5 separate regions of the Homo sapiens genome follow, and all the other regions are linked to region 1. The links are contacts of gene promoters, found by promoter capture Hi-C in blood cells and fetal thymus (Javierre and others, 2016). All regions are on one chromosome and are shown on one strand. Each heading gives the region's core, a stretch centred on a gene start or on the middle of the fragment in contact. The rest is flanking DNA. Distances are from core to core; before and after follow the strand shown.

What was found. The method cuts DNA at HindIII sites, captures the fragments that hold promoters and counts their contacts. A CHiCAGO score of 5 or more calls a contact.
Region 2: a fragment that was not itself captured here is called in contact with the fragment with the promoter of HTR3A in region 1 in 6 of 17 cell types (monocytes, total CD8 T cells, erythroblasts and 3 more); the score reaches 6.6 in monocytes.
Region 3: a fragment that was not itself captured here is called in contact with the fragment with the promoter of HTR3A in region 1 in 7 of 17 cell types (fetal thymus, total CD8 T cells, monocytes and 4 more); the score reaches 8.3 in fetal thymus.
Region 4: a fragment that was not itself captured here is called in contact with the fragment with the promoter of HTR3A in region 1 in 12 of 17 cell types (total B cells, total CD8 T cells, naive B cells and 9 more); the score reaches 9.6 in total B cells.
Region 5: a contact is called between a fragment that was not itself captured here and the fragment with the promoter of HTR3A in region 1, in 12 of 17 cell types (naive CD4 T cells, naive CD8 T cells, M1 macrophages and 9 more). The highest score is 7.6, in naive CD4 T cells.

The regions. Positions count from the first base shown.
Region 1 is chr11:113,972,428-113,976,786 of GRCh38, forward strand. It overlaps HTR3A (5-hydroxytryptamine receptor 3A), which reads left to right and starts at 2,681. Exons shown (of 9, transcript NM_000869.6): 1 at 2,681-2,965. The coding sequence starts at 2,899. RefSeq lists enhancers at 2,244-2,905, 2,906-3,565. The HindIII fragment of the contact is 9,568 bases long and covers 1-4,359 here.
Region 2 is chr11:114,288,334-114,292,491 of GRCh38, forward strand. It overlaps a transcript of NNMT not described here. Among named protein-coding and RNA genes, the nearest start is that of NNMT, 6.0 kb to the right of the region's middle. The HindIII fragment of the contact is 2,333 bases long and covers 100-2,432 here.
Region 3 is chr11:114,304,471-114,308,559 of GRCh38, forward strand. All of the region lies in intron 2 of NNMT (nicotinamide N-methyltransferase), which reads left to right. Among named protein-coding and RNA genes, the nearest start is that of NNMT, 10 kb to the left of the region's middle. The HindIII fragment of the contact is 196 bases long and covers 2,347-2,542 here.
Region 4 is chr11:114,267,777-114,271,933 of GRCh38, forward strand. It overlaps a transcript of NNMT not described here. Among named protein-coding and RNA genes, the nearest start is that of NNMT, 27 kb to the right of the region's middle. The HindIII fragment of the contact is 1,218 bases long and covers 681-1,898 here.
Region 5 is chr11:114,235,038-114,239,675 of GRCh38, forward strand. The region is part of intron 4 of ZBTB16 (zinc finger and BTB domain containing 16); the gene reads left to right. Among named protein-coding and RNA genes, the nearest start is that of NNMT, 59 kb to the right of the region's middle. The HindIII fragment of the contact is 4,626 bases long and covers 779-4,638 here.

The sequences.
Region 1 (4,359 bases), core at 1,431-3,930:
TTTCTTCCTGTCTGGTCTTCTTTTTCTTCTTGTTCCTCTTATTTTTTACTTCTCCCCTCTTCTCCTTCTCCAGATCCCCACAACTGTGAAAATATTGTTTTACCTTTCACTTTTTTTGTGCTCCATTCCCTCCCGCTTTGGTGCTGTCCTTTCAGAACAAGTTCAATTTCTAATGCTTCTTCCCAGCTGTCTCCAAATGGTTCAGCTCTGTGGGAGGAATGGGCCCCAGGCCATACCAGCCTAGGTGTGGAGCAAGAGGTAGGGAGGCCCTCGTGGATATACACAAACACCCCAAATACAAAATGGAGCATTGTGGTAGTGGTTAGGTTGTGTCAGGGGAGCAATTAAGTTCTATTCGCTCTTCAATGAGGAAATGATTATAATGGCAACCCCAAATGGGTTTGTTACTGCTAAAGGCCAAACCCTAGCTTATGGCTGTATGAAGGGACCCCATCAACAAATGGCATAATGCTCTATGCAGATTTCATAATGCACATAAACAGGAGGAGAAAGTCGTCTAGAAATTTTCAGATTTCTAAGTGCTAATGGCCACTTAGACGTCAGTGGGAGCTTAAATACTTTGTTGGCCAGGCACAGTGGCTCATGCCTGTAATCCCAGCACTCTGGGAGGCCGAGGCGGGCAGATTGCTTGAGCCCAGGAATTTGAGACCAGCCTGGGCAACATGGCAAAACCCTGTCTCTACTAAAAATACAAAAATTAGCCAGGCATGATAGCATGCCCCTGTAGTCTCAGCTACTTGGGAGGCTGAGGTGGAGGGATCACCTAAGCCAGGGAGATTGAGGTTGCAGTGAGCTGTGATCATGCTACTGCACTCTAGCCTGGGTGATGGAGTGAGATCCTGTTTCAAAAAAAAAAAAAAAAGAAAAAAGAATCTTTGTTGGGCTTGAAGATGCATTTAGGAATCTATAGTGTTCTGCTTGGGCCCCATTCAAGACCTCAGCCTGGTGGCCTAGGAGGCAGCCTGGTTCTTCTTGCCTTGCTTTATCCTGCTGTCAAACCTCAGGTCTGAGGACATTCATTCTGGAATTCTGGGGAGGTCTGGCTCTATAAATTCTCTAAAAGTTTGGGGCCCTCTTTCTATTCACTGCCCTCATATCCATTCCCCTGAGGGAAATGCTTGGAGCTAATTGTCCATGTTTTTCTGGATTGTGCAGTGATGAAGCACATGACTTAAGAGAAGAGTAGCCCAGGCTCCCTGAACTTGACTGCACGTTGCAGAACCACACCCCGCTAACGGCCACAGGAAAGGACCCCAATGGTGAATGGTATAATGCTTTATGCAGATTTCATAATGCACAGGAATAAGAACTGAAAGGATGCAGCCCTGACCAAGGTAGTTTCTTTCTTTTTTTCTTTCTTTTTAACTTACCTACAATTCAGAAAATTCCTCCTTACTGCAGGGTTCCTAGCCTATTCCACACTTAGAGTCAAGTGGAAAATAAATTAAAAAGGAAGAAAATGTTTTGTTGTTGATACTTAACTTGATTGGTACGGGGACATCTACCCAAATGGTGAGCTAGGGTAGGACTCCTTCAAATAAAAATGCACAGTAATTCTTCTTGCAGGCAACTTTAGGGGTACACAGCTGAGGCCTGAGGGATAGATACTTGTCTATTTAACTTGCAATGAAGAAAGAAACACTTCTTTCAAGAAAGACGCTTCCATTTAAGAGGAAGGTATTGAAAATGCTTCCGAGGCCAGGTGTGATTGCTCATGCCTCTAGTCCCTTTGGGGGACTACCAAAAATACAAAAATTAGCCAGGCATGGCTCGCATTTGTAGTCCCAGCTCTTCAAGAGGCTGAGATGGGAGGATCAGCTGAGATGGGGGAGGTTGGGGCTGCAGTGAGCAGTGATTGCGCCACTGCACTCTAGCCTGGGTGACAGAGCGAGACTCTGTCTCAAAAAAAAAAAAAAAAAGAAAGAAAGAAAAGAAAAGAAATGCTTACGAAATGATATCAAGCAAAAAAAGAGGGCACAAAATTATATGTATGTGATATTTACTTCATTGTATACACATTACTGAAGAAAATTATGGAAGAATATATACCAAAACGTTAAGAGTGGCTGTCTCTGAGTCATAAGTTTACAGATGATTTTAATTTTTCTTCATATTTTTCTACAAAGTGCATGTATTATTATTATTTTTACTATATGTATTTATTATGTATGGCAAGAATGCATGAAATAAATATGTATAGTAAAAGTTTATTTTTATTATATATTTTATTATTTTTAATATATATTTTACTATTTAAGTATAACTAATTAGATGAGGACAAAAGGGCAGACCTGTGGTGACTCCAGTTACCCTTCCCGTAACTACAGAGGTGCCCAGTCACCTGCTTGGTTATGTCACCCTGGGGAGTAAAAGAATGGTCTTCCTGCTCCTGCCTGACTCACCCTATCCTGCCCCAGCCCAGTGCCACAGAAACATACTTGCCAAGGGACATCAATGAAAGCAGCAGCGTGGTGCACCTCCCAGGGGTCAGGCTGCACCCTTGTCTCATGGGCTTCTGCAGCCCCTGTCCCCACCTAAGTTACTCCTTGGGGAAACATGGCCAAGCCCCCTGGCTGAATGGGTGGACTGAGCTCCCACAGCATGACATCAGCTAGGGCGGGCTCCCCTCTCAGCTGTCCCCTCCCCTTTCCTCCCGCCTGAAACATGATCCAGCTGAAGGACTGATTGCAGGAAAACTTGGCAGCTCCCCAACCTTGGTGGCCCAGGGAGTGTGAGGCTGCAGCCTCAGAAGGTGTGAGCAGTGGCCACGAGAGGCAGGCTGGCTGGGACATGAGGTTGGCAGAGGGCAGGCAAGCTGGCCCTTGGTGGGCCTCGTCCTGAGCACTCGGAGGCACTCCTATGCTTGGAAAGCTCGCTATGCTGCTGTGGGTCCAGCAGGCGCTGCTCGCCTTGCTCCTCCCCACACTCCTGGCACAGGGAGAAGGTAAGCAGACTTCGGGAAGCAGCAGGACTTGGCTGACCATCTGCTGAGGTGGGGCAGGGGATGCTTCAGTCCTCCGAGGGCTGTGGAGAGGAGGGTGGGGAACAGTGCAGCTGCAGGAAGGTCAGCTATCTTACCACCTATGAGCATGACAGCATTTGAGGCATCATGGTTAAGCTAGAGAGAGTTAGGAATGTTGAGTCCTGGGGTGGGGCAAGAGCGGAGCTTGCAAAGAAGGGAGCAGAGAAGTAGCCTGGCGTATCAGAAATAAAAAGACAGGCACCAGGAGGGGGCTCCTCTCCTTTTTGTCCTTTCCCTAAACTATTTGAATGAAAGCTGCAAGGGACCTTAGAACTCATTGGGTCCACCCTTGCCTGTTATAAATGGGAATGCTGTGGCCCAGAGAGTGGGGAGCGGATAATTCATTCAAGGTCACACAGCTTGTTAGCAGCAGAGTGGGGACCAGAACTAGTCTAGTCCTCTTTCCTCAGCTTCACTGGTTTTGTTGCATGAGTTCGTTCTCTGGGCCTGCGGTTCCCCAAGTTCCTTTCCAGGACTAAACTCCAGTAACGCCCAATTTCTCTCCACATTCGCTACACCCATCTTCTCCTGACTCCCTTGAATGTAGGGTGTTTTAGCCACAAAGGGACCGGCTTCCTTTTGCTGCAGACCATGTTCATTCCCCTCTAGGAGGTTTCTCTCCCTACAGAGCTGGGGTGGAGCATACTGGGGCACAATTAGAGGAAGCCATCCAGGGGTTGGACAGACGTGAAGAGCTCTGGGTAAGATGTCCTTCCTCCCGGGAGCGGTCGTTTGGGAGTGCTCCGTGGGTTAAGCAAACGCAAGCTGTAAGTGATGACTGTGGTCGAGGGCTTCCTTGACTGAGAAGAAACTCTGTCCCTCCTAGCAATGGTCCTTTGCCCCGGGCCTGCTGGGATGAGTTCAGTGCTCTCCAAGCTGGTCAGGATCCCAGTCAATAGGACCCAGGCTCTTGCTGGTGTAGTAAAGACGCACACGGGTCTGCGTTTGAATCTCAGTTCCTCCACTTGCAGAGCAAGGTGCTCACCTTTCTGGTGCTTGGGGATCCTTGTGTGCAAATAGCCACTCTGGTGGACTGTTCTAAAGTTAAATGAAGAATATGTTTATTGATGTTATTCCAAAGGAGACACTTAAAAAATAGTTTGTGTGTGTGTGTGTGTGTGTGTGTGTGTGTGTGTGTGTGTGTTCTCTCTGCTCTTCTCTGTCCTTCTGAGGGAAGCCAGTAGCTTATCAGGGAAAAGGGGGTGAAAGGAGGGGGAATCTGCAGGAGTGATTTGTTGTACAGGTTGCACACTAGATGAGAGAAGACACAGTCTTGTTTAGCAAAAGCCAGGCCTTGCCAGCACCTGGTTAGTGAA
Region 2 (4,158 bases), core at 16-2,515, 310 kb after region 1:
GTTGAGGTTTTTGTAGGTAATCTTTATCTGATTAAGGAAGTCTTATTCTATTTCCAGTTTGGCAAGGATTGTTTTTGTTGTGAATGGATATAGAATTTAAGCTTTTTCTTTTTTTTTTTTCTGCATCTGTTGAATGGATCAGAAGATATTTTTCCTTTAACATGTACATGTGATGATTTGTATTAATTGAATTTTGAATGTTAAATCACTTTGTATTCCTGGGAAACACTCACCTTGGCCATTGTATAGCTGCTAGAAAATTAGGCTCTTGAGTTAGATTGCCTGGGTCTAAAACTTGGCTATACCACTGTCTAGCAGCGTGACCTGGGCAATTTACTTTACATTTTTGTGCCTTGATTTTCTCATATGCTGAAATGGGGATAATAATAGCCCTTAACTCACAAAACTTCTGTAAATTTTAGTAATATGTCCAAAATGCTTAAACCAGTTCCTGAAAAATAGTAAGCACCATATACATATTTGCTACTTTATTGACCAGACAATAACTTGTTTAGGATTTTTATACTCATGCTCATGGGTGATTTTTAGCTTGTAATTTTTTTCTTCTCATAAGTAACCTTGATATTAGGCTTTAGCTAGACTTATAAAGTTAGTTGAGGGGTATTTTCTCTTTTTGTATTCTCTGAGTTTGTGTAAGATTAGAATTATTGATTACTTGAATATGTGGTAGAATTCACTGGTAAAGCCATCTGCTCTGAAGATTTTGTATGAAACTAATTTTCCATTTAAATTCTTTAATGGTTATAAGGCAATTCAGATTTTATATGTGTTATATATTTATTTGGAAACCTCTAAATTTAATGTTTCAATGTATAGGCATAAAGTTATTTGTAATATCTTGTTATTATCTTTTAAATGTCTGCAGCATCTGCCATGAGGTTCCCCTTTTTATTCCTGACACTGGGCATATGAGCCTTCTCTCTTTTTTGCCTTGATCATTCTAGCTAGAAATTTGTTAATTGTATTTATCTTTTCAGAGAACCAACTTTTGGACCTGTTGATTCTCCCATTAATTCTTAGCTTTTGTGCTCTGCAGGATTCTCTTCTTTCTACTTTTGTCTATTTTGCTGCTCCTTTCTTAACTTCCTCAGCTCATTAACTTTCAGTTTTTCTTCTTTACTAGTATGCATATTTGAGGACTAGAGTTCCCTTTAAATCCTGCCTTAGCTGCAACTCATGAGTTTTTATATGTAGTATTTTTATTACTACTCAGTTAGAAATATTTTATAATTTCCATTATGATTTCTTCTTTGACCCATAGGTTGTTTGTTTCTTTATTTCCAAACAAATAAGGGTGTTTTAGTTATCTTTTATTTTTTACTTTTAGCTTAAATGCATTGGTCAAATAGCAAGCCCTATATCATTTCAGCCCTTTGAAATATGTTGAGGCTTGCTTAATGGGCTAGTATGTAAGAATTTATTAAGGGCCTATGTATTCTTGAAACAAATGTGTGTCTTAGACCATTTGGGATGCTCTAACAAAATGCCATAAACGAGGTGGCTTGTAAACAACAGAGATTTGATTCTCATAGTTCTGGAGGCTGGGAAGTACAAGATTGAGGCACCAGCAGATTCAGTGTCTGGTGAGGGCCTGTTTCCTTCTTCGTAGATAGCACTTTCTCACCGTGTCCTCATGTGGTGAAAGGGTGAATGAGCTCTCTCGGGCCTATTTCATAAGGGCACTGATCCCATTCATGAGGCCTCTACCTTCATGACCTACCACCTCCCAAAAGACCCCACCTCCTAATACTGCTATGTTGAGCGTTAGGATTTTAACATATGAATTTGATGGGGAACAAACATTCAAATCATAGCAGTGGGTGTTTGGGTGCATTATGTTGTATATGTCCATTAAATCAAGTTGGTTAATCCTGCTGTTCATGTAATACATATTTTAACTGATGCTTTTGTCTGTTTTTAATCCTCAACCAAATATCTTCTTATTTTACGCTTTGTATTTGTCCTTAAAGAGCTGTTTCTTTTTCTCTCCATTCTTATCTTCTTTCGAATTGATAGTATTTTGTCATTCTAGTTCTTCTGCTCTACTAATTTGGAAGTTAATACACTTTGATTATATTATTTTGTGGTGTCTAAAATTGGAGTGTAAGTATTTTATTTTGGATCCCACTAAGCACCAGTGAGGGAATGGGGAAGTGAGACAGGGAAAGCAAGCAATCTGATGCAGGGGGGATTAATGTGGAAAACTAGGGCTCAGCCACTTTAATTCCATCTTTCTTATTTTTAACCACACAAGGCATTATTTTTTATGTCTATTAGAATCACCCACATGTTGGCCTTCTCAGTTAATTCTTCATTCCTTCTTGCATTTCAGACCTTCCACTGGGGTTCACATTCCTTCTGTCTGAAATTCATCATTTAGAACTTCCTTTAGAGAGGACGTACTAGTGGCAAGCTTTTAGTTTTGCCCGCTACTTTCTCTATTTTGTCCCAATTCTTCAAAGACTTTTTCTGGTTGTAGAATTCTAAGTTGACAATTGCTTTGTTTTAGCACATTTACAATATCATTCTCTTGTCTTCTAGCAAGCTTCCTAGTCCTGCAAAGTCAGCTGTTAGTGTAACTATCACTTGTGTTTTTTCTCTAGATGTTTTTAACATCTTTTGTAGTCTTTGGTGTTGCAGTTTTTTATCAGTAAAATGTCTAGGAGGGAATTGCTTTTCAAATATTTTGCTTGTGATTCACTGGACTTCTAAACATAGTCCTTCCTAGACTGTTACAATGATTAAATGAGTTAATATGTGTAAAGCACATATAGAACAGTACTTGCACAAATAAGTGCTCAATAAATACTACCTATTTTGGATTCTGTGTATTGATGTCTGTGTCAGTTCTTAATACATTCCTTCATAGCTCCAACCCACCCTTCTGTACTCTGTGGTGTGAGAGCTAGTCTATGTCTCTTAGCTTTCTCTTTTATTTTTTCCATTTCCCTTTCTCCCTCTGCTACATTTTGCACAATTTCTTTTAGCCTATCCTCCAATTGCAAATTGGACAGATTTACAAATTGGATTTTGCACACACAACTTTCCTTTGCCAGTGTCTCTATGTTGGTTCCACCAGTGAGAGATTCTGGAGGGACATGCAAGGCTTGAGGAGGAGGAAGGGACTTACCATGTCCTGTTTTTTTGTTTGTTTGGTTTTTGTTTTGTTTTGTTTCTGAGGTCTGGTTGTGGGCTTATGATCCTGTGAGCAATCTTGGCGATGGTTGTCTGCATGCAGCTGTTGGCTCAATGCACGGCTCATCTCTGCGGTGGCATTCCTTGGGTTCCTCAGGTGTCCAGCATTCCCGCAGCAGCTGTGCTTTCTCATCAGAGCTTTTTGATGCTTGGTTCTGTGGACTCGTCCTCTAAGTTTCTAAGTTTCTCCTGGTTTCCTTGTTCTGTCAGCCCAGTGAGTTTCTGCATTTGCCACCTCTGTTACACTCCAGAGTCCACCTTTACTCTCTTAGCCATTAACCACTTTTTACTTAGTCAATTCTTTATACTAAATTTTATATTAATAATTTCTGACTCAAGTTTAAGGTGGGTTTCTGTCTCCTGACTGGATTCTGATACAGTATTTATCATCAGTTCTGGAAAATTCTCTGTCTTTATCTGTTTAAATATTATTCTAGTCCATTTGATCTCTCTTATCTCTCAGAAACTCCAGTCTGACATAGAGCAGATCTTTCTCCTCTATGCTCGATGTCTCTTAGCTTTCTCTTTCACTTTTTCTATTTCTCTTTTGCCCTCTGTTACATTTTGGATAATTTTTTTTTAGCATATCTTCCTATTTACAAATCTATTCAATTACATATAACATTCTGTCAAACTCCTCTACTGCTAATATATACAAGGTATTTTATATCTATATATCAGCATGTTTAGCTTTTTAGCATTTTAGGCTTTCAGGAAAAGGGTGTATCTTGAGAGTTAGCCAGACATATTACTGGAACCTGATATGTCAATATTTGGAATCTTTTCTTCCAGCAAACATAAGCAATGATGGTGTTCACACTTTTGGTTTGTATCGTATTTTCTAGCAATGGATTTGGTGTAGCACCTCTGGAGTCTAGAGTGAGGTATTTTCTAGGAGAATGCCCCACTACATTGATTTTTTGTGCATTAAGTATTGTAGCA
Region 3 (4,089 bases), core at 1,195-3,694, 330 kb after region 1:
CTTGTGCTAGATCCTGTGGCTTTAATTATTTTAAGAATGATAATGATCCTATGCAACTCATGTCTTTCCTGCATCTTCAAGTAGCTTTATCAACCTACAACCTATTTCCTTCAAGATGATTTCTTCTTTATCTGAAGTTTTTTCTTGTGCTAAAGGCTGCCAAAGACGTATGTACTGTCTCCTGTTCTTCTACCTCTGCATTTAAATACCACTCATTTTAAATTAGCTGGCCATAGTGGTGCACACCCGTATTCCCAGCTACTGGGGAGGCTGAGGAGAGAGGATCACTTGAGCTTGGGAGATCGAGGCTGCAGTGAGCTGTGGTCACATTCCAGACTGGCTGGCAGAGTGACACTCTGTCTCAAAAATAATAAAAAATAATAATAAAAATAAATAACCCTCATTTTTACAACTATCCAAAAAAGTTTTAAGAAAGTCAAACACTAAGATACAATTACTCAAGCTTATACAATGAACAGAGGAAAATGAGCTCTTTCCTTAAGAAATTGTAGAAGCTGCATTACTTAACCTATGGTTCCTGGAACTTGGAATGCATAGCTTAGGCTTGTGGTCCCTGGACTAGTAGTTTGACAACACGTGGGAGCTTTTAGAAATGCAGGCTGTCAGGCCCCACTAGCTACCTACAGAATCAGAACCTTCACTGTAAGATCTGCTAAGGGTGGTATGCACATTACAGTAGAAGAAGCACTGGTGTCTGGAGCAGGGCTTCCCTCTAGGTGTGCCAGGGCACACACACAGGTGGGTGGGAATCAGTTGCAGGCATGCTGTCCAAGCTGTTTTCCTTGGCCCTCTTGACAGCAGGTGGGGCATGGACCACCTCCTGGTTGCCTCTGTAGAGAGTGGCTCCTCCTTTTTTTTTTTTAATTTTTTATTATACTTTAAGTTCTAGGGTACATGTGCACAACGTGCAGGTTTGTTACTTATGTATACATGTGCCATGTTGGTGTGCTGCACCCATTAACTCGTCATTTACATTAGGTATATCTCCTAATGCTATCCATGCCCCCTCCCCCCACCCCACGACAGGCCCCGGTGTGTGATGTTCCCCACCCTGTATCCAAGTGTTCTCATTGTTCAATTCCCACCTATGAGTGAGAACGTGTGGTGTTTGGTTTTCTGTCCTTGAGATAGTTTGCTCAGAATGATGGTTTCCAGCTTCATCCATGTCCCTACAAAGGACATGAACTCATCATTTTTTATGGCTGCATAGTATTCCATGGTGTATATGTGCCACATTTTCTTAATCCAGTCTATCATTGTTGGACATTTGGGTTGGTTCCAAGTCTTTGCTATTGTGAATAGTGCCACAATAAACATATGTGTGCATGTGTCTTTATAGCAGCATGATTTATAATCCTTTGGGTATATACCCAGTAATGGGATGGCTGGGTCAAATGGTATTTCTAGTTCTAGATCCCTGAGGAATCACCACACTGACTTCCACAATGGTTGAACTAGTTTACAGTCCCACCAACAATGTAAAAGTGTTCCTATTTCTCCACATCCTCTCCAGCACCTGTTGTTTCCTGACTTTTTAATGATCACCATTCTAAGTGGTGTGAGATGGTGTCTCATTGTGGTTTTGATTTGCATTTCTCTGATGACCAGTGATGATGAGCATTTTTTCATGTGTCTGTTGGCTGCATAAATGTCTTCTTTTGAGAAGTGTCTGTTCATATCCTTTGCCCACTTTTTGATGGGGTTGTTTGATTTTTTCTTGTAAATTTGTTTAAGTTCTTTGTAGATTCTGGATATTAGCCCTTTGTCAGATGGGTAGATTGTAAAATTTCTCTCCCATTCTGTAGGTTGCCTGTTCACTCTGATGCTAGTTTCTTTTGCTGGCAGAAGCTCTTTAATTTAATTAGATCTCATTTGTTAATTTTGGCTTTTGTTGCTATTGCTTTTGGTGTTTTAGACATGAAGTCCTTGCCCATGCCTATGGCCTGAATGGTATTCCCTAGGTTTTCTTCTAGGGTTTTTATGGTTTTAGATCTAACATTTAAGTCTTTAATCCATCTTGAATTAATTTTTGCATAAGGTGTAAGGAAGGGATCCAGTTTCAACTTTCTACATATGGCTAGCCAGTTTTCCCAGCACCATTTATTAAATAGGGAATCCTTTCCCTATTTCTTGTTTTTGTCAGGTTTGTCAAAGATGAGATGGTTGTAGATGTGTGGTATTATTTCTGAGGGCTCTGTTCTGTTCCATTGTTCTACATTTCTGTTTTGGTACCAGTACCATGCTGTTTTGGTTACTGTAGCCTTGTAGTACAGTTTGAAGTCAGGTAGTGTGCTCCTCTTAACCTCAGCATACCTGACAGAAGAAAGCTTAGGCCCCTGTCGAGGTGGCAGTTCTCTGAGGTAAATGCTCTCTGTGCAAAGACCTCCATTTCTATTTAAAAAGATGTTTGTATGTTGTCCAAAAATAGACACAGTTGTGCCAAATGTGTTCCACAAACTAGTGAACCACTTCTATTCCAAAGCATCTCTGGACTTTCACAGCTTGCAAAAGGATATTGATAAGCTTTTTCAAAACCAGGATCTTGATGATCATGATGATTGTTTCAGTGATACCTAGGAAACATTCCCGCCTTTTACAAGGATGCCTCTCTCTTAAATAGGTGCTCTTGCCACCTTATCTCCCCAGGAAAATTCACAGGGCAGGTTAAGAAACCTTCAACTAGCTATTTCCTCAATTGTAAACATTTCTACTCACAGGTCTCAGAGCACTTCAAACTCAGTGTGTCCAAAACAGAGCTACCATCTGCTCCAGATCTGCTTTATTTCTGGTATTCTTAGCTCCTTGAATGGCACCATCATATAATAAATTGGACAAGCCAGAACCTGGAAGTCAATTTGTCCTTTCCCTCTCTGTCATGTTCCATATCTAACTTAACATCAAGCTCTGTCCATTTTACTTCCTGACTTCCTCTGTAACCCATTTCTTCCCGTGTTTACCATCACCTGGTCTCAGCTACCCCTGTCTCCCTCCTGACTGGCCTCCCACTTCCACTCTTGCCCCTCCACTCAATTCTTCTCTGTTCTGCAGCCCAAGTGACCCTCTCAAAATGTAAATCTGATCATGTCACTCTCCTCCTTAGTGCTCCCTAGTGACTCTCCAGAGCTTTTGGAATGAAAAGCAAAATTCCTGTCATGGTCCACAAAGCCCTGCCTAGTCTGGCTCTGCCAACCTATTTCCCCACAATCCAGCCACGTTGGCTCTCTCCTCCTGTGTTTCCTGCCACCACGTGGCCTTTGCACTTGCGGTTTCCTCTTACTGGAATTTCCTCCCGCCCTCCCTGCTTGCTTCAGTCTGGTTAACTCCTACGTATTTATCCTCTATATCTCTGCTTGCCCGACTCCTTTTTGGAGGAGCTTTTCCTGATCCTCTAGGTCAAGGGGAGCTCCCAACATCTCCCCATTAGTGCCATGCTCCTTTCCTTCCTTGCATTTGTCAGTTTTAATTTCCACTCCTATGAGTGATCACTGGGTTAATGCTTTCTCCCGCCACCCACCCGTCTACAATCTCCATGAGGTTAGAATCTGTTTCTCATTTGTTCATCCTTGTGTCCCCAGTGCCCAGCCTATTTCCTGAACATAGTAGAGGTTCAAAACATATTTGGAAAATACATGAATACTCACATTTTGCTTTTCAGACTTTTCCTCCTAGAATATCATTCACCTGATTCGGGTGTGGGGTGTGGTCTCTGTCAAAGATGCACTAATGATTGTTCCTTGCCCGTACAATTCTCACAGTGACCTCCACGCTTACTTAGCCTTGATTTCCTTGACCTGTTTTGATGGTTCTTTCTCAGGAGAGCCTGCAGGAACTTCTGAGGATGGGGCTTTGGGGATGTGAGGACAATGAAAAACAGCTTGTCAGGGAGATTCTGATGCACTGCCAGCCTTGCTGAGACAGGGCAGGAGGAACCGCCTCTAAATCTCAGGATAGTTCACCTGGAATGTGGGAAGACATTCTCAGAAAGGGTTCTTCCCGGGGCCCTCCTCTTCATCCTTTCTTGCCTCCCTCCCTTCCTCCCCATACCCCTCAGGCTTTTATAGATGCATA
Region 4 (4,157 bases), core at 40-2,539, 290 kb after region 1:
AATTCATGCATTTTTCAAAATGAATTTTTCTCATTTAACCTCAGTGCCATTTATATCTTTCCAAAATTAGGAATGGTTCCTCCGTATCCTCACTCAGTCTGTATTCAGATTTTCCTGATTGCTTCAAAAATAACTTTTTAAAGTTGATTTATTTGAATTAAGAGCCAAATCATACCCACATACTGCATCGATTTGTTATTTCTCTTAAGTTTCATTTTCCCCATGCTGTTAACTTGTTGTAGAAAGCGGTGATTATTATTATCTATTCAGTTATGAGATGATGAGGGCCTGAAATGGGGCTGGGTAGTAGGAGTAAAAGGAGGAAACGATCTGAAGAGACCTTATGGAGCAGAGTCATCTGGTTAACCCAGCTTTAGGCCAGTGGAGTGGCGACATCGCTGACCTTTCTGAGACACCTGGGAGCTACAAGATCAACAGTGACCTTGTTTCCTCTTACAGGGTCCCTAGTGTGACAACTGAAGGGAACTTCACAGATGAGCTAATTGTACCTTTTGTTTTAGTCCTTTTTCCAGCCTCTCCCAGCTAGGCAGAACATCTGTACAGTCCTCCCACTTGTTCACAGAGTTCCCTCTTTATCTTGCATCCTCTGGAGCTTGTTAGGAGAGGGTCAGCCTCCATACATGGGACTTACCATGGTTCCCAAACCAGCCATGCAACCAAGCTTATGATTGCTTAAAAATATACTACAACAGACCAGGCGCGGTGGCTCACGCCTGTAATCCCAGCACTTTGGGAAGCCGAGGTGGGCGGATCACGAGGTCAGGAGATCAAGACCATCCTGGCTAACAAGGTGAAACCCTGCCTCTACTAAAATACAAAAAATTAGCTGGGCGTGGTGGCACACGCCTGTAGTCCCAGCTACTCGGGAGGCTGAGGCAGGAGAATGGCGTGAACCTGGGAGGCGCAGCTTGCAGTGAGCCGAGATCGCACCACTGCACTCCAGCCTGGACGATGGAGCGAGACTCCGTCTCAAAAAAAAAAAAAAAAAAAAAAACTGAAACAGCTGGTTCCCTGCCTTAGAGCTCCTGAATCAGAATTTGTGGGCATGCTACCTGGGAATCTGAAAGCAGCTGTGTCATAGGTTTTGTCCGGTTTTGTCCAGTTTCGTAGTTGTTTATGGTGAAAGGCAATTCCAGTAATTGTTACTCTGTCATGGCCAGAAGAAAAATTTCTGTTCTGATTTTTAAATTTGAATTAGTTCATTTAATCCTTTCACAAATTCTAAGAGGTAGATTATTATCCTTGTGTTTTCACACATTTTAAAAAAAAAAGCTGAGGCAAAACGAGACTAAATAACTTGTCCATGGACACATTGTGTAAGTGCTAGAGCCAGATTTTGAATCTAGGCCGTTTAGCTCCAGACTCTGTGCTCTTATACATCAACCTATTATCTTACATAATAGCTGCTTAATTAATGTATTTTGGATGAATGCAGTGAAGGCTTTCTCTTCTATCTTTCTTACCCATTTAACTTCTGTTCTCCTTGCCAGAAAAGTCTCAACCTTACCTTAATCCATTGTGTTCTCTTCTGCACCAAGACGTCTCAGCACACTGCAGAAAATCCAACTTCTGGGCAGACTGAGTTCCTGTCAAGTTATCTGGGCTCTCAACAATCCCTAATAATTCTGTATTTCCCTAGTTTTTGCCTTCTGTTTTCCATAGAGTTCTTGTCCGAATCTCAAACACCTGCACCTCCCTATTCATTATTTTCAGGAAAAACATCATTTTCAGCTCAGTTTTCTACTCATCCCTTATAAATTTGACTTGTTTTGGCATCTGTCCTTGCCTTTCCTCCACTGTCAAAATATTTAGTGTTTCTCTATCAGAGGCTCATCCACTTTTAGCTACTGCCCTGTCTTTCTTCCCTTTCACAGCCAAGCTTTCAGAGGTGTTGTTTGCATTTTCTGTCTGCACTTCCTCACCACCCTCTCACCTCCAGCTCACTCCATCACTGCATTCTGGCTTCTGTACTCATTACTTTATTCGTTTACTAGTGTCGACTTTTATCTTTATTAATTTTGTCATTGCATGTTATTTAAATGTACTTGTTATTCTTTTTTTAACTTCTTGGTTTAGATGCTTAATTCATGTATTAATTATCTTCTGTTATTAATATAATTAATTAAGGTCATAGATTTTCCTCTCCTTAGTGTCCTATAGATTCTTATGTGTAGAGTTTAAAAAATTCTAGAGAATTTTCAATTTTTTTGGTTTCTTCTTTGGTCCAAAAATGTTTAAGAAAAAAATTTAAAATTTCCGGGTGGTAGAGTCTTTTGTTTTTGTAATGAATATTTATTTTGTTGCAATTTGATCAGAGAATATTTTGTATTATTTCTACCTTTTGAGAATTTAAACAATTTCTTTGAGGCTTTTTATATAATCAGTTTTTGTGAATATTCCATGGGTACCTTGAAAAGAAGGTATATTTTCTATTTTTAGATTAGAGCATTCAATACGTGAATTAACTAGATTTGAATTATTAATTACATTTTAATATCTTCTATATTCTCATTTACTTAGGAACGTGTGAACAGAGGAAACCTGTGCCCTTTCCCTGGGCATAGCCTAGAAAGTGTCAAGACTCCAGACTCATCTCTATTCTCAATGTGGTGCTGGAGCAGAAGCAATGCTTTGATGGTTGTTTCACAGCCCAGAGTATCGTAAGCAGAGGGAGAGTGATTTCCCTTACTCCCGTCTGAGTGTATGAGTTTGGTAGTGTTGCCATAAAAAAAGACCACAGACTGGGCGGCTTCAACAGCAGAAATTTATTTTCTCACTGTTCTGGAGGCTGGAAGTCCAAGACCAAGGTGCCAGTAGGGTTAGTTTCTAGTGAGGTCTCTCTCCTTGGCTTGCAGATGGCCACCTTCTCACTGTGTCCTCCTATGGCCTTTTCTCTGTGTGTGTTTCCCTCTTCTGATAAGGATAGCAATCCTACTGGATTAGGGCCCTATTCTATGACTTCATATAACCCTAGTTACCTTTTTGTTTAGTTCTTTTTTTTTTTTCTCGCTTTGTTGCCCAGGCTGGAGTGCAGTGGCAGGATCTCAGCTCACTGCAACCTTTGCCTCTCAGGTTCAAGCAATTCTCCTGTCTCAGCCTCCCGAGTAGCTGGGATCAAAAGCATGCACCACCACACCCTGCTGATTTTTGTATTTTTTTAGCAGAGACAGGGTTTCACCATGTTGGCCAGGCTGGTCTTTAACTCCTAACCTCAAGTGATCCACCTGCCTCAGCCTTCCAAAGTTCTGGGATTACAGGCATGAACCACCATGCTCGGCTCCGAATGACCTTTGTAAAGGCTCTGTCTCCAAATGCAGTAGTCATATTGGGGCCAAGGGGTTCAACATATGAATTTTGGGAGTGGGCAGGGAGGCAGGCACAATTCAGTCCATAAAAGTAGAGAATGGGAATAGAAGGGAGAGGGAAATTTGTTTTAAAAGAGAGAAAGACATTGAGACTGTGTAAAGGGGATGTTGCAACCTTTTAAAATCTGTGATCTCAGACCAAATTATACAATATAATCTCAGTAGGTGCCAGTAGTAGGGAAAAGTGTCAGCCCTCGTGTCTGGCACTAAGTACCACCCACCCCAACCCCAGTGATGGGAGCCTCTAAATGACTGAGATTTAATGTCTACTACCTATTTGAATGAGGACTTGAAGAAGAAATTCAGTGCAGTTATAGAGCAGGTGCTTTTTGCACACTTATCCCCACTACATGTGTGGCTCCAGCTCAGGTCTCTCTGTGAGTTTTTGACCTGCATCTGGGTTAGATTCAATTTTTTAGCCTCAAGCCAAGCATGCTCCAAATGCAACTCCTCGTTTCTCATCATGTCATCCTCTTCACCCTCCTCTAAACCTGTTCTTCTTCCTGTGTTCCCTACTTTATGAATTACCAGCATCCACTCAGTGGTCTGGGACAGAAACCAGGGTGTTGTGTTCGGGAGCTGAAAACACTAAAGACTAAAACCCAATGAAGACATCTTCATCCTAGTATCTCACAGCTCCTGGGGGTTCACAGGAGATTTTGTTTAAAAATTAATTAGGTATGCTACTTAAAAACCCACCGTAGAAGAGAGTGCAGTACAGTGGAGCAGAAGAGATGGGAAACCCTAAGCTGCTAAAAAGCCTGGGGGTTG
Region 5 (4,638 bases), core at 1,842-4,341, 260 kb after region 1:
TTTGGGGGCTGGGGGTGGAGGGAGGGGGAAGTTTCTAGTTTAAATCAAGGTTTTCACACCCTCCTAAATTTGATATTTTCTTTCTGTGGGGAGAAGAAGCTTTCGGGGTGGCAGGGGAGGCAGTCCTTCCTTTGTTGGGTGAGGTTGGGTAGGATTGGACGTGAGAAGCCCCTCCGGGGTACATGTGCATGCACGAGCACACACGGGCATGCACACACCCCAGCACATGCACACACAGCAGTCCCAGCCTGCTTACCAAAAAAAGCTGGAGTATATTTAGATCCCTCTGCTCCTTTGATTAAGAAACTGCTTATAGCAGGAGATAATAAGAGCTTTGCTCCAAGAAGGTGTAGCACCTGAACATCTTCTCCAGCTGTGTACCCCTCTGATCCTCTTCCTTCCCATCTATTAAAGAGATAATTGGTATGGAAATGGCACAGGTGTAAACATGAGGGGTTTTGTGTTTCATAATTTCAGACCCCGTCATCACCTGGGTGAAATACCCTAGGTCTGTGTCACCCCTTCTGCCTACTATTCCACCCTGGCCTGGCTTTCTCCCTTTCTCTCTCTTTCTTTCTTTCCCTCTCCCTTCCTTTCTTTCTTTCTTTCTTTCTTTCTTTCTTTCTTTCTTTCTTTCTTTCTTTCTTTCTTTCTTTTCTTTCTTTCTTTTCTTTCTTTCTTTTTCTTTCTTTCTTTCTTTTCTTTTCTTTCCTTCCTTCCTTCCTTCCTTCGTTCCTTCCTTCCTTCCTTCTCCTTTTTTTTTTTTTTGCTAAAATTAAGCTTGTTTTAAATTGGAAGACTTTGAGTCATACATGCCCTGTAGTCAAAACTGGCAGTGTTGCCACTGGGGGGTCTGGTGTGGGTCACCTTCTCTGGAGATAGAATTGATGCAAATGTGGTCCCAGATATTTGCATGGATCCTGCCCATATTACTAAGAGTCATGTTCCTTGAGTCTCGATAGCATCATCCTTTCTACATGCATCCCCTTTTCCTACTTCAGATTCCCTTTGAGCAGATACCCTGGGAGTCCAGGCTAAGACTGAGTCCCATTCATTCTTCAGAACAGCAGAGGTGCTAATTCCTTGACCTGAAAAATTATTTTCTTGGGTCAAAGCTGACTTATATATCTGATTTACATTGAAATGTACAGATTGATAGAAAACAATACATTTTTAGGATTTACATAATCAAAAACATTTGTCAGTTGCATCATAACAGGGCTATGAAGTTAGGGTTGGAAAGGGCAGGTTAGTTATGAATTCTCTTATCCTAGATGAAGAAACCAAGGTTAAGGACAACCACTGCCTGGACTAGGATCACAAATCCAAGAAGGGCTGTACCTCTGGGCCAGAATTGGGATCTTTGGACTGTTTCACTGTATAATATGGCAAAACTGATCCTTCTATGGTCTGGGTTTTTGCTTCCGAGCAACAGAGCTCAGACATGGAGTGACAACGAAGGAGTCCTGTCCAGCCCACCAGACAGACACGGGGGGCCTCAGTGAGATCCGCTGCCTGTGGGTCACTTGTCATTACTGATTTCCAAGGAGAGTCTTGTTGGATGCTCTTAGTAGTGGTTTCATTTGTGGACTGTAGTCTGAACTTTCCTCATCCCTAGCCCTCTGTCTGTACCATGACTCTCCTCATACCTCCTCCTCTACCCTTTGTGATTGTCTTACAACCCCTTATTTATTTTCTAATTCAACATGCAGTTATTAAGTGCCTACTCCATATCAGGCTGTGTACTGTGTGTTGGGGAATATAAAGATGAATACAATAGTTCCTACTTTGGAGGCTTATAATCTATTAGGCAGAGCTGAAAGTCCAAAATAAATGCAATACAGGGCTTTACGTGATACAACAGAGCTCAGAGGAAGATGGTGTTGTTGGCACTGAATCCTAAGTGGTGTAACTCCTCAAAGATGCCTTCTCTAGGGTCAGCTTCCCAGAAAGTAGCAGCCCAAAGACAACAAAACAGCTTAGGCATGTGTATTGTGCAGGGCTGCCATGACTCATGATCCAGGTCGTTCACTGCACAAGGGTGCCCAGCTGAGGAGGGAAGATCCCAAAACCCTGCCCTCTCTGTACTCACCATAAATATGCAGCCAGGTCTGTGGGGCTGGCCAGAGGAGGAGACGTGATTTTCTAATTCAGATGAAGGTGTTGTTTGGCCATCATTGGCTCTGTGACCACATTATAAAGTTTTTTCGTGTGGATATCTCATTCGATGTTCTTGATAACCACAGTGGCAGATAAGGAGCAAATGGATCTGGTGAAAAGAATGACTTGCTCGGGGCCACAAGGCAAGTATGTGGGAGAGCTGGGACCCCTGTGCTGCTTTTCCTTCCCCTGTGTCATGTGGACCATCTGACTTCTGAGGGTCTCGTTTATCCAGTCAGAGCACCTCCCCTCTCCCCAGTGGTACCAGGCCTGACGTCTCTCCATAGCAGAGGACGGAACCCAGGCGTTGAAGGGAGCAGAGCGTTCCAGTGCTGCCGGGCCCCCCTGCCCCGCCGCACATCTCACTGCAGCTAATGAATTGCTAATACAATTTTCTAGATAATTTTATTTCCATAGTCCCACATTTTAATGTGTTTCCAAAAGCTAGCATTTATTTGCTTAATCTCCCAGTGTAATAGAATCTGCCCTGACTCATCATACATGCGAACAATCAGCTAGGCTGAAACGCCAGCAAATTGTTTAATAACTCACATCTAGTCTCTAGATTTTTAACTCGCATGCACCAATAGCTTTTCTTGTGTCTCATCCACATCTCCCCCACTTTTCCATTTTTTTAAAAATACTTTTCTATCATCATAGCTGTTAGTTTCTAAGCAGAAAAATGGGGAAAGTGGATGCTGAGTCTCAGAGGCTCCCCTTTCTTCCCCTGGGAGCCTTGGTTGGTGGATACGTGACCAAGGAGCACCCCTGCACCTTGTGGAATGTCCCAGGAAGGGGAGAGAGACCACTGTAGGGACATCATAGTGTTTCCTTTCCAGCTGGTGACCATATGACTTCCAGCCTGTTGGCCAGTTGTGGAACTGGCCATCTGGGATTTTTTGCGTGCCACTCCTCCCTTGCTGTCCCACCTTTCTAGGATTTTCTCTCTCCCTTTGCCCTGGCAGCCTCTGCCCTGGTCTGGTCCCTACCCTCCTCCAGTGGCCCATCAGCCCTCTCGCTGCTTCTAACCGCTTGCTGCTGCTGTTGGTCCCCATGTGTGCCCAGAGTCACTGGCTTCAAACACAGGTCAGATCGTGCTAGCACCACTCGTCTTAGTCAAGTCAGGCTGCTATAACAAACTGCCACGGACTGGGTGGCTTATACACAGCAGACATGCATTTCTCACAGCTCTGGAGGCTGGGAAGTCTGTGATTGGGGTGCCAGCATGTTCAGGTTCTGGTGAGGGTCCTCCTCCTGGTTGCAGACTGCTGATTTCTCGGTGTCCTCACGTGGTGGAAGGGGCTAGCTAGCTCTCTGGGCCCTCTTTTACAAGGACACTCATTCCATTTTAATTACCTAATTATCTCTCCCAGGCCCCACTTCCTAATACCATCACCTTAGGGGTTAGGATTTCAAAAAAGGAATCAGAGGGGGACCCAGACATTAGGATCATAGCAACCCTCGGTCCTTTCATGGCACTGCATTGCCTGTAGAATAAAGTCCAACCTGTCCTGCCTGGCATATGCAGCCCTCTGATCTGACTCCCATCACCCTCCCAGCTTGTCTCCATCCCCAGGGCCTGACCTTGGCCCCATCTGCTCTGACATTTGCCAGTGGTGTCTCTCTCCTTAGCCTGGCACATGTGTCCCAACTTCTTGTCCTTTGCTTCTCAGATACTCAACTTTTAAAAGCCTAACTCAAAATCTCAGGAGCTCTTGGAGTCGCCCTGCCTTACCCTCTGGGTGGTTGTTAACTCAGCATCTCCCACTAGTCTGGGACCCAGTTTCTCTGCTCAGCCTTAGCCTGCCCCTGGTCACCTAGCACAGTGCCTGTACTTGGTAGTGGCTCAGTGAGTTGGCTGAATGGACATGAAGTGGGTTCAGGCCACCCTGAGAAGTAGGGACAGCATAGTGGGGCAGTATCGAGGGGCCTTGGAAAGGCCAAGGGGGCAGAGTGCTGCAGTCTGCCTTGCTGGGTGTATTGACACTCAGAGCACCTGTGGGTCTGGCTGTATAGGCTGAGATGTCCTATTGGGAATGCCATTCATGTTCCCTCTGCCCAGGTTCCTTCCATGCCGGGGATCTCAGAGGATGCATAAGGAGAAGCCTTGGCTCTTAAAGGGCATGGCTGGCCTCCAAAGCCTACTCAACCCTACTGATTTAAGGTAGCTGTTTGAACACCTGGCTTAATTTGGGCTCTCTGTGGGGTGGGGGTTAAGGGCAGAGAGGGAGTAGATGCTGGGGGCTCTCAAGTTGAAGGAGTGGGGGCCACCGGGCACAGAACGCATTGCAGATGCACTGTCCTCCTGTGTACGTCGGCCAAGCAGGGAGGGACATTGAAGACTCACTGTCAACTCTTGGCATTGCTTCTGTCCAGAAAGATACATCTCTCATTATGTCTCCCTCCAGCAAGTGAAGCTGAGTAGACTACTCAGCATTTCTGAGAGACCTTGGTGGCTCCCAGTGGGATTGGAAGGCC